Regions from separate parts of the Homo sapiens genome. Here region 2 is linked to region 1. Evidence: promoter capture Hi-C in 16 types of primary human blood cells and fetal thymus (Javierre and others, 2016). All regions are on one chromosome and are shown on one strand. The core of a region is centred on a gene start or on the middle of the fragment in contact, and the rest is flanking DNA. Distances in the headings are between cores, read along the strand shown. Region 1 holds the start of ALDH4A1 (aldehyde dehydrogenase 4 family member A1). Region 2 overlaps LOC105376815 (a long non-coding RNA gene).

The links. The method cuts DNA at HindIII sites, captures the fragments that hold promoters and counts their contacts. A CHiCAGO score of 5 or more calls a contact.
Region 2: a fragment that was not itself captured here is called in contact with the fragment with the promoter of ALDH4A1 in region 1 in 4 of 17 cell types (naive CD4 T cells, naive CD8 T cells, total CD8 T cells and 1 more); the score reaches 5.9 in naive CD4 T cells.

The regions. Positions count from the first base shown.
Region 1 is chr1:18,899,536-18,903,822 of GRCh38, reverse strand. ALDH4A1 (aldehyde dehydrogenase 4 family member A1) reads left to right here and starts at 1,268. Exons shown (of 15, transcript NM_003748.4): 1 at 1,268-1,361. The coding sequence starts at 1,300. LOC124903866 (a long non-coding RNA gene) reads right to left here and starts at 1,710. Exons shown (of 2, transcript XR_007065519.1): 1 at 1,571-1,710; 2 at 452-1,013. RefSeq lists enhancers at 215-1,032, 972-1,201 and a silencer at 1,282-1,501. The HindIII fragment of the contact is 9,883 bases long and covers 972-4,287 here.
Region 2 is chr1:18,972,657-18,976,628 of GRCh38, reverse strand. The region is part of intron 2 of LOC105376815 (a long non-coding RNA gene); the gene reads left to right. Among named protein-coding and RNA genes, the nearest start is that of IFFO2, 18 kb to the right of the region's middle. The HindIII fragment of the contact is 6,746 bases long and covers 1-3,972 here.

The DNA.
Region 1 (4,287 bases), core at 19-2,518:
CAAATAGCCGCCACCAATTCCAATTTGCTTTTTGCCATTCCTAATACTTGGCATTTAGGTAATCTCCCTCTCCTACTCTTCATTTAAATGTTTACATTCTCCCAAAGTACCTCAAATGGTGTAATCTGGAGAAAAATAAGTGGCTTAAGATCACGGGGGCTTTGTGAGTTGGGTACTATTACTTCCGTTTTACAGATGAGGAAACTGAGGCCCGGAAAGGATATGTAGTCTGCCTAGTGCCCTGCTTGAGGAACCAAAATCAGCATGGGAACTGACTCCTAAGCAGGTGCGCGGTTCATGCTGCTGGAAGAAATATAAACAAATTAGAACAGAGAGTAAGGAAACGTAACATTACTTTAGGAATAGATTGGGTCCCTGAGACCTCGTCATCAGAGAAGACTTCAGAATCCAAGTTTTAAATAGCATTCTAGTGTTTACCAAGCACACAACATTTTGCAAAGAAAGCTGAAATTTTTACTTGGGGGTAAAAGGCTCAGGAACAACTGGTTTTGCGGCCAAAGGCTTTAAATGAAAAGCTAAGCGTTGGCCAGCTCAGGTTTTATCTTGCATTGATCGTAATCTGCAAGGAAGCTAAGAAGCTGGCCGGCCCCGCGCCTGGAGGGTAGGTGGAGAGCGGCTGGGTCCTGGCCAAGAAGCTGGAAGGCAGGCTCATTCCAGGGGCCGCAGCCCCCGGGAAGAAGCAGGGGGCTGGCCGCGCTGTGGCCCTGCGGGGTCGAGGAGTCTGGTAGCGGACAGGTTTCCAGCCTTGTACAAGCCACCGGCAGCCCGAGAGAAGTCAGTCGGACTCCCATCGAACCCGGGGCGCACGCCAGAGGGCCGGACGCAGCGAGTCCTTCTGCCCCGCTTCAGCACGTGTCCCATTTCGGTTATCTCATTGGCTCTATTCAGCCCCTCTCTGCTCCGCTTTGGAAGGCTGCCGCAGGACCGCCCCGCTGATTGGTTCAGAAGCTTTGGTGTGTCACTCTGACTGGTCGACAGAGTTCACGCCCTCTCTCCCGGGTCATACCATAAAGAGAGGAGGGGAAAACGCATGCATTTCAGGACTTCGCTTTCGGGTTCCCTTGTCCTGTGTTGTGTAATGCCCCCGTTATGGCACTAGAAATATTTTTTATTAGCCGAAGCTAAATATAGTGGGACTTTGGCTGATCCCGAGCTCGGAGGACAGCCGGGGTGATCCGTTTCCCCCCGAGGATCGAGGTGGTGCGCTCTGGACGGGGTTGTGCATTCTCGCCGCGCCCGGGCGGACGATCCAGCGAACAGCCCCGCTTCTAACCCGAGATGCTGCTGCCGGCGCCCGCGCTCCGCCGCGCCCTGCTGTCCCGCCCCTGGACCGGGGCCGGGTGAGTGAGCACGGGGCCCGGGGCGGCCCGAGCGCGCGCCTGGGGCCCGGGAGCCTGAGAGTCACTGGGCGTCCCCCGCGCCGCACTCCCTCCCTGCCGGACCCCCAAGCTGCCTCGGTCAACGCCGGGTTCCTCAGGGGCTCCCCTCCGACCCCCACCCAGGCCTTTCTCCCACTGAGATCCCTTAGCCTCCTCCCTCAGGTAGTCACCTTCCTTTAGCGAGGGGACCCCTCTTCCCGAATCCTGCGACCGAGTAGGGTGCCTCGGTGGCCCTGCCGGTTCCCACGCTCGGAAAGTAGCCTCTGTAGTCACTCACCTCACTCCTAATACTGGATCTTCGCAATTTGCTGGCTTCCCCTGAGGGGCCCTTCTATTTTTAGCACACCACACATCTCACTTCCCCACCCTCGTCTCACGTTCAGTGTCCCCATCCCGCCCCGGATTCCCCGAGTCCTCTCCTTCTACCAGGATTTCTACCTCTCTCTTTTCCGCTCCCCACACACCCCGCCGCCCGTTTTTTTTTTTTTTTTTCAAGTTAAATGTTGGACAGAAAAAAGGATTCCTTTCTTCTTGTAGGTGGAATAATCATATTTATAGAGTGCTTATAATGAACCAAATGCTGGCCGGGCAATTGGCAGGTGTCTTATGAGGATTAAATGAGTTAATACATGGGGAGTGCACTGAACAGTGCCCAGCACAAAGGCAGCGCCCGGTTATTATTATTGCCACGATCATCATCATTATCACCTCTATTTAAACTTCTCACTCCTGTGAGGCAGGTCATTATTCCAAATAATGAAGAAACCCAGGAGCAGTTCAGGGGTGGACCTGCCCTTCAAATCCCGATTTGCAAACCTGACATTGTGGAGCCAGGTGCCTGGACCCTTGCCCACTCAATGACAAATATTCTCAGAGCCCCTCCAGCTCGGAGCTAGGTTTGGAGAGGTAGGTGGGACACAGACCCTGCCCCAGAGGGGTTCCTAGTCTGGTGGGGCTGCCCACCTGTGGATCAGCCCCCCCTCCCATTTGAGGTTTGTTTGCTTGACCCCTGGGGCTGTTAGTGGCAGTGTCTTTCCTGATGAGCTGTGCCCTTTCTGAGTTAATCAGTGGCCCTCTCCCTTCCCCCAAGGGATGGCATGGTGGTGCTCTGAGCACAAGTGAGTTGCAACACTGCTGTGTGTCCTCTGTGGGTGAAGAGGGGATAGGAAAGGGCGCAGGAAGAGGACATGGGACAGAGGGGTTCCTCTTCTAGGCTGAGACTGGGGCCACACTTGCCATACTCCCTGTGTGATCCCGTTTGCAGGCCTTCCCTGCACTCTGAGACTCAGGAAGATGGAGCTTATAGAGTCCTGTGTTTACTGAGTGCCTACTGTGAGCTGGTGCTCTGCCAAACACCCTAGAGATGAGGGGTACCCAGGGAATTTACATGGGGTGGGGCCTTTGAGGAGTTTTCGGCTTAATAGGGGAGAAATGCATAGGAAAACCCTCCAATATCTAGTAGAAAGCAATCCATATTCTAAAAGATAAGCCCATGATAACAATAATGATTATCAAGCAATCAAGCACCATGGGCCTAACACCGAGCCGGTAAGTACTGTCTCATTCCTGTATTATCATGGGAAACGATCTGCCATCAGAGATATATGACTGAAATTACATTTGGTCTAAATCCAGATTTATGCTCTGAATTATGAGGCCTCCTGAATTGAGAGGGGAAAGAGAAAGAGCATTTTGCAGCTGGTTCCCTGGGCTCAAGTTACCCCTTTGATACAGCAGCTGGCCGCATGCCCTAGACAGGATTTCTCAACCTCACCACTATTCGCATTTGGGGCTACATTTTGGTTGCTGTGGAGTCTGTCCTGTGCACTGTAGAATGTTTAGCAGCGTCTCTGGCCTTTACCCGCTGCATGTCAGGGGCACCCCCGGCCCTGACAATTACGAAAAAAACCCTGGCCCTGACAGGAAACACAAGTTCCCAGACATTGTCAGATGTTACCTGGGGGACAAAAGTCACCTCCGGTTGAGAGCCAGTGCTCTAGAGGAACAGCTTTGATGTTTGATCACTTGTTCATTTACTCAGTGAACATTTAGAGCACACCCGTGACATGCCATGTCTGCATTTATGGAGAAACAGTCGCAGGGCATTTTCAGTGACATCCCTCAGTGTCCTACGTGTAAAACTCTAGTCCTGAGAAAAACCGCTGCTTTTGAGGAACGGGTATAGGAGATGCTTCTTAGTGTTTTCTTTTTTGCCTTGAGTGCCAGGAATCTCTGCTAGTTTTAAAAAATACCCTTGATACATGTTTTCTTTTAGTTTAATACATGTCAACTGTGAAAAGTACAGATAAGGCAAAAAAATAGAAAAATCACCTGGAATTGTACCACACAGAGGTACCCACTGTTAACATTTTGATTCATGTCCTTTAACTTTCCATGAATAGATATGCTTTTAAAAAAAACCTCATAGAAACAAGCTCATCTGCCCATACTTTATTGTAGCTTGTTTTTTCCCTTTATACACTTGTCTGCCTTACAGTATGTTCCCAGGCCCTGGAACTGTGTCTGGCACCTGGTAAGCCCTTGGCAAACATTTAGGGAATGAATGAACTAATCATGTGAGCCCTTCCTTGTCAATCGATATTTATCACGGCCAGCCTCAGGACAATCACCATAAAGTGTGGCCTTTATAGGTGGGCCCAGGGATGGCAGCTGGTGACAATGACTGCCATTTACTTTTCATGTGGATTATTTTACTCAGCCTCTCAGCAACCTATGATGTAGGGGTTACCACCCCCATTTCACAGATTAAACAACTGAGGCCCATGGAAATTAAGGAAAACTTGTCCGAGGCCTTGAGCTGGTGAACACCAGGCCTCCCAACTGACTGTCTCTTTCCTCCTTTAACCCTGACTTCCTGTTTTTTTCT
Region 2 (3,972 bases), core at 1,221-3,720, 72 kb before region 1:
CTTTCAAGGTTGTTGGGGGGATTAAGTGAGAAATCATGTGGATGGTGCCTGAGTGCCTGGAACACAGTAGGAGCTTGTAGCAGGTGCAGTGGGTGCCTCCACTGTCCCTCACCCTCATTGGCAACAGCACACACCCCATTTCCAGCTGCCAGCCCCTTCCACCTTTTGCCTGGGATTTTTTCATGCTGCCTCCGCAGGTATAAAGTGATGGGGAATTAACACTCCTCCATCACATATGTAGATAGCAGCCCTCTGTAAAGTGGCAAACGGGAGTTGGTGTACGAAGACCCCAGATCCCTCGGCTCATGTTCTCCAGTGGCTCCCAGGATCCCCCCATTGGGAAGGAATGAACACTAGCTGTCCGCGGAGGTGGCTGTCTGCCTTCCTTTTTCTGTCTCACTTCCTCATCCTGGGATCACCTCCCCAGTTTCACCATATTGGGGGGTTTCACCATATTGGCCAGGCTGGTCTCAAACTTCTGACCTCAAACTTCTCACCCCAGTAAGCGACATATTCAGGTACACGAAGCCTTGTATCAGATCAGCTTTTGGGGGCACCCTGGCTTAGGCAGTGCTCCCAAGCACTAGTTGTGATTATGGTCCTATGGGGGCCAGATGAGTCTCATGACCCCTGCTGGCCCATCCACATCTTGTTCCCAGTGTGCCCCACAAGCCTGGTCTTTCTATTCTCCACCCTGAGGAGGTGAATATAAGGAATGACTTACGCTGAAGGAGCTGAGGCCTGGAGAAGGAAAGACGGGGTCCCAAGGATTCCCGTGAGTCACTGGAAGTGCCTACACTGAGGATAAGGGCCGGTTTGGCTGGGTGCGTTGGCTCATGCCTGTAATCCTAGCACTTTGGGAGGCTGAGGCAGGCAGATTGCTTGAGCCTGGGAGTTTGAGACCAGCCTGGGCAACATGGCAAAACTCTATCTCTACAAAAAATACAAAAATTAGCCTGGCGTGGTAGCGTGAGCCTGTAGTCCCAGCTACTGGGGAGGCTGAGGTGGGAGGATAGCTTGAGTCCGGGAGGTCGAGGCTGTAGTGAGCCGTGATCACACCACTGTACTCCAGCCTGAGAGACAGAGAGAGATCTTTTCCCAATAAATAAATAGATAAATAAATAAAAGAGCTGGGTGAAGTAAAGACTTACAATTGTCCCCCTTATCTGAGAGGGCTACATTCCAAGACCCCCAGTGGATGCCTGAAACTGCAGATAGTACTAAACCCTATATATACTGTGTTTTTTTCTATACATACATACCTATGATAAAGTTTAATTTATAAGTTAGGCACAGTAAGATATTAACAACAGTAAAAGTAAAAGAGAATAATTATAACCGTATCCTGTGATAAAAGTTACGTAAATGTGATCTTTCTCGTTCCCTCAACAACTCTTATTGTGCTGTACATATTCACCTGTGTTCAGGCCACTGTTGACCAGGGGTAACCAAAACTGCGGAAGGTGAAGCTACAGGGAAGGGCGGATGACAGTACTTTGTGCCTGGCTCTGTGTGCAAAGCACTTTCCAGTGCTTGTTCATCCTCATGGCCACTCTGTGAGACAGGATGCTACTATTCCCATTTTACTGAAGCTCAGAGAGGTGAAGTGCCTTGCCCAAGGTTATACAGCTATTAAGTTGTGAGGTTCACATTTGAACCCAGGGCCGGAGCTCTTCGCTATGGTGTTATACCCGGGCTTTCAGGCCTGTTTTGCAGCTGACCCACCTCCTTTCCATTTAGACGGATGGGGACTCTGGTTTGACTGGGGAGGCTCGGCCTTGCTCTGCCTCCTGCTACCTTGGCCCCCAGCCCAGCTGCGAGGACACCATTCAGGCATGTCTTTGGCTGGGTTTTTTTTTTTTTTTTTTAACAGATTTATGTTTAGCAGGGAAGCCCACTCACAGGAGAGAGGCTGGGGCTGGACCAGGAACAAGGACGCTGCTGTGGCCTTGTTTGAGGTCCCACTGACTCAGGAACAAGGCAAGCCTCTTAGTCTGTTTCCTGGCTCATAAACCAGTGTTTATAGGGTACTCTTCTCTGATTTCCTTCCCTTCCTTCCTCTCTCTCTCTCTTTCTTTCTTTCCTTTCTTTTTATTTTATTTTTTTTTTATTTTTTGAGATGGAGTCTCTCTCTGACGCTCCGGCTGGAGTGCAGTGGCATGATCTTGGCTCACCACCACCTCTGCCTTCCAGGTTGAAGCGATTCTCTTGCCTGAGCCTTCCGAGCAGCTGGGATTACAGGGACCCACTACCATGCCTGGCTATTTTTTTTTGTTGTTGTTGTATTTTTAGTACGACGGGGTTTTACCATATTGGCCAGGCTGGTCTCAAACTTCTGACCTCAAGTGATCCACCTGCCTCGACCTCCCAAAGTGCTAGGATTACAGACGTGAGCCATGGCGTCCGGCCTGTCCTCTGATTTTCAAGGGGCTGGAAGGGACACCGCAGGGGCAGCTCCTGGCATGGCCCTGGGACCCCCGTGAGAAAGCAGACTTGTACTTGGGCAGGCTAGTACAAGTTTGCTTGTGCTCAGTTTGCTTGATTCAGCTGGGAGCAGGGGTAGGGTGGAGGTGAGGAGGAAAAAGATGGGAGGGAACTCACCTTTACTGAGTATCTATCCCATATCTGACACTGCATTAGGCACTGGGGAGTTGTCCCCTTAGGCAAGAGCCAGTCTCCAGTCCCACAGAACCCCTGATCGATCAACTCCAGGGTGTGTGGGAGGGGAAAGAAACTGACAACTGCAAATACAGTGCAGTATAACAGCAAAAATTTATCGAGCACTTACTATGTGCAGGGGTTTCACGGGTGTTATTCAATCCTAACACTGATGCCAGGCACAATCTACTGTCACTGCACCCATTTTACAGATGAAGCAGCTGAGGCAAAGAGAGGCTCAGTCACTTGTCTAAGAACACACAGTTAGAACTAGGAGGAGCCAGACTGGAACCCAGGCTGTTTGGCTCCAGAACTTGCAGTCTAAGCTGCCCGTTCTACGGTCTTATCAATAACAGGAGGCACGGAGGCAGCACGGGGGACAGATCTCCTCTGTTGGGAGTGAGACTGGAGAACACAGTGGTTTCCATACTGATGCCTGATTGAGGCTTTGAAAAATGAATAGGAGTTAGGTATAAAAGAGGCAGGGAGGGTTTTCAGCAGAAGGAACAGCCTGTGTAAAGGTAGAATCCTGAGCTAGCACATTAGGCTGGGGAAGTTGTAACTGGTAGTGATATTACTTGGGGACGGGTTTGGGAGTTACAATTCAGGATCGCTGGAGCATCAAACATAAGCAAGGGAGAGGTGAGGTGAGGCTGGAGACCAGGCTCAAGCCGCAGAGGACCTCTCCTGTCCTGCTAAAGTGTGTGAACTTTGTATAAGACACAGTTCCCTCCCCAGGGGCCTGTCCTGAGCTTGAGGAGACGAGCCACATTATTAGGAAATGATGATGAATCCACGGCTTCCTCCCATAGAGTGAGGGCAGAAGAGGAAGGGCTGCAGTCCCAGCTACTCGAGAGGATGAGGCGGCAGCATCTCTTGAGCCTAGGACTTCAAATCCAGCCTGGACAACATAGAGAGATATCATCTCTTAAAAAATAAAAATAAAAAATAAAAATAAAAAAGAGAGATAGTGGGAAGTGTGTGGGGGACATGCAGAACGGAGCGGGTGTGAGTTGTGGAAAGAAAGCTCAGTAAAGCATATGTTATTTTTAGCCCTGTGTATCCTCCTGCCCCTTTCAAATCTAACTTGATTTCAAATCCCTGCTTGCTGCTGACTAGCTGTGTGACCTTGGGGAAGCCACTGAACCTCGCTGAGCCTTAGTTTCCTCCTCACCTATAAACTGGGTGGAAATAAATGATGACAATCTCCCAGAGTTTCAGTGACGAGTTCACTGGATCTTTGCCATATCACCAAGATCTTTGCCATATTAGCTAACCACCTCCACCAGGAGGTGGCAAACTCTTTCCATAAAG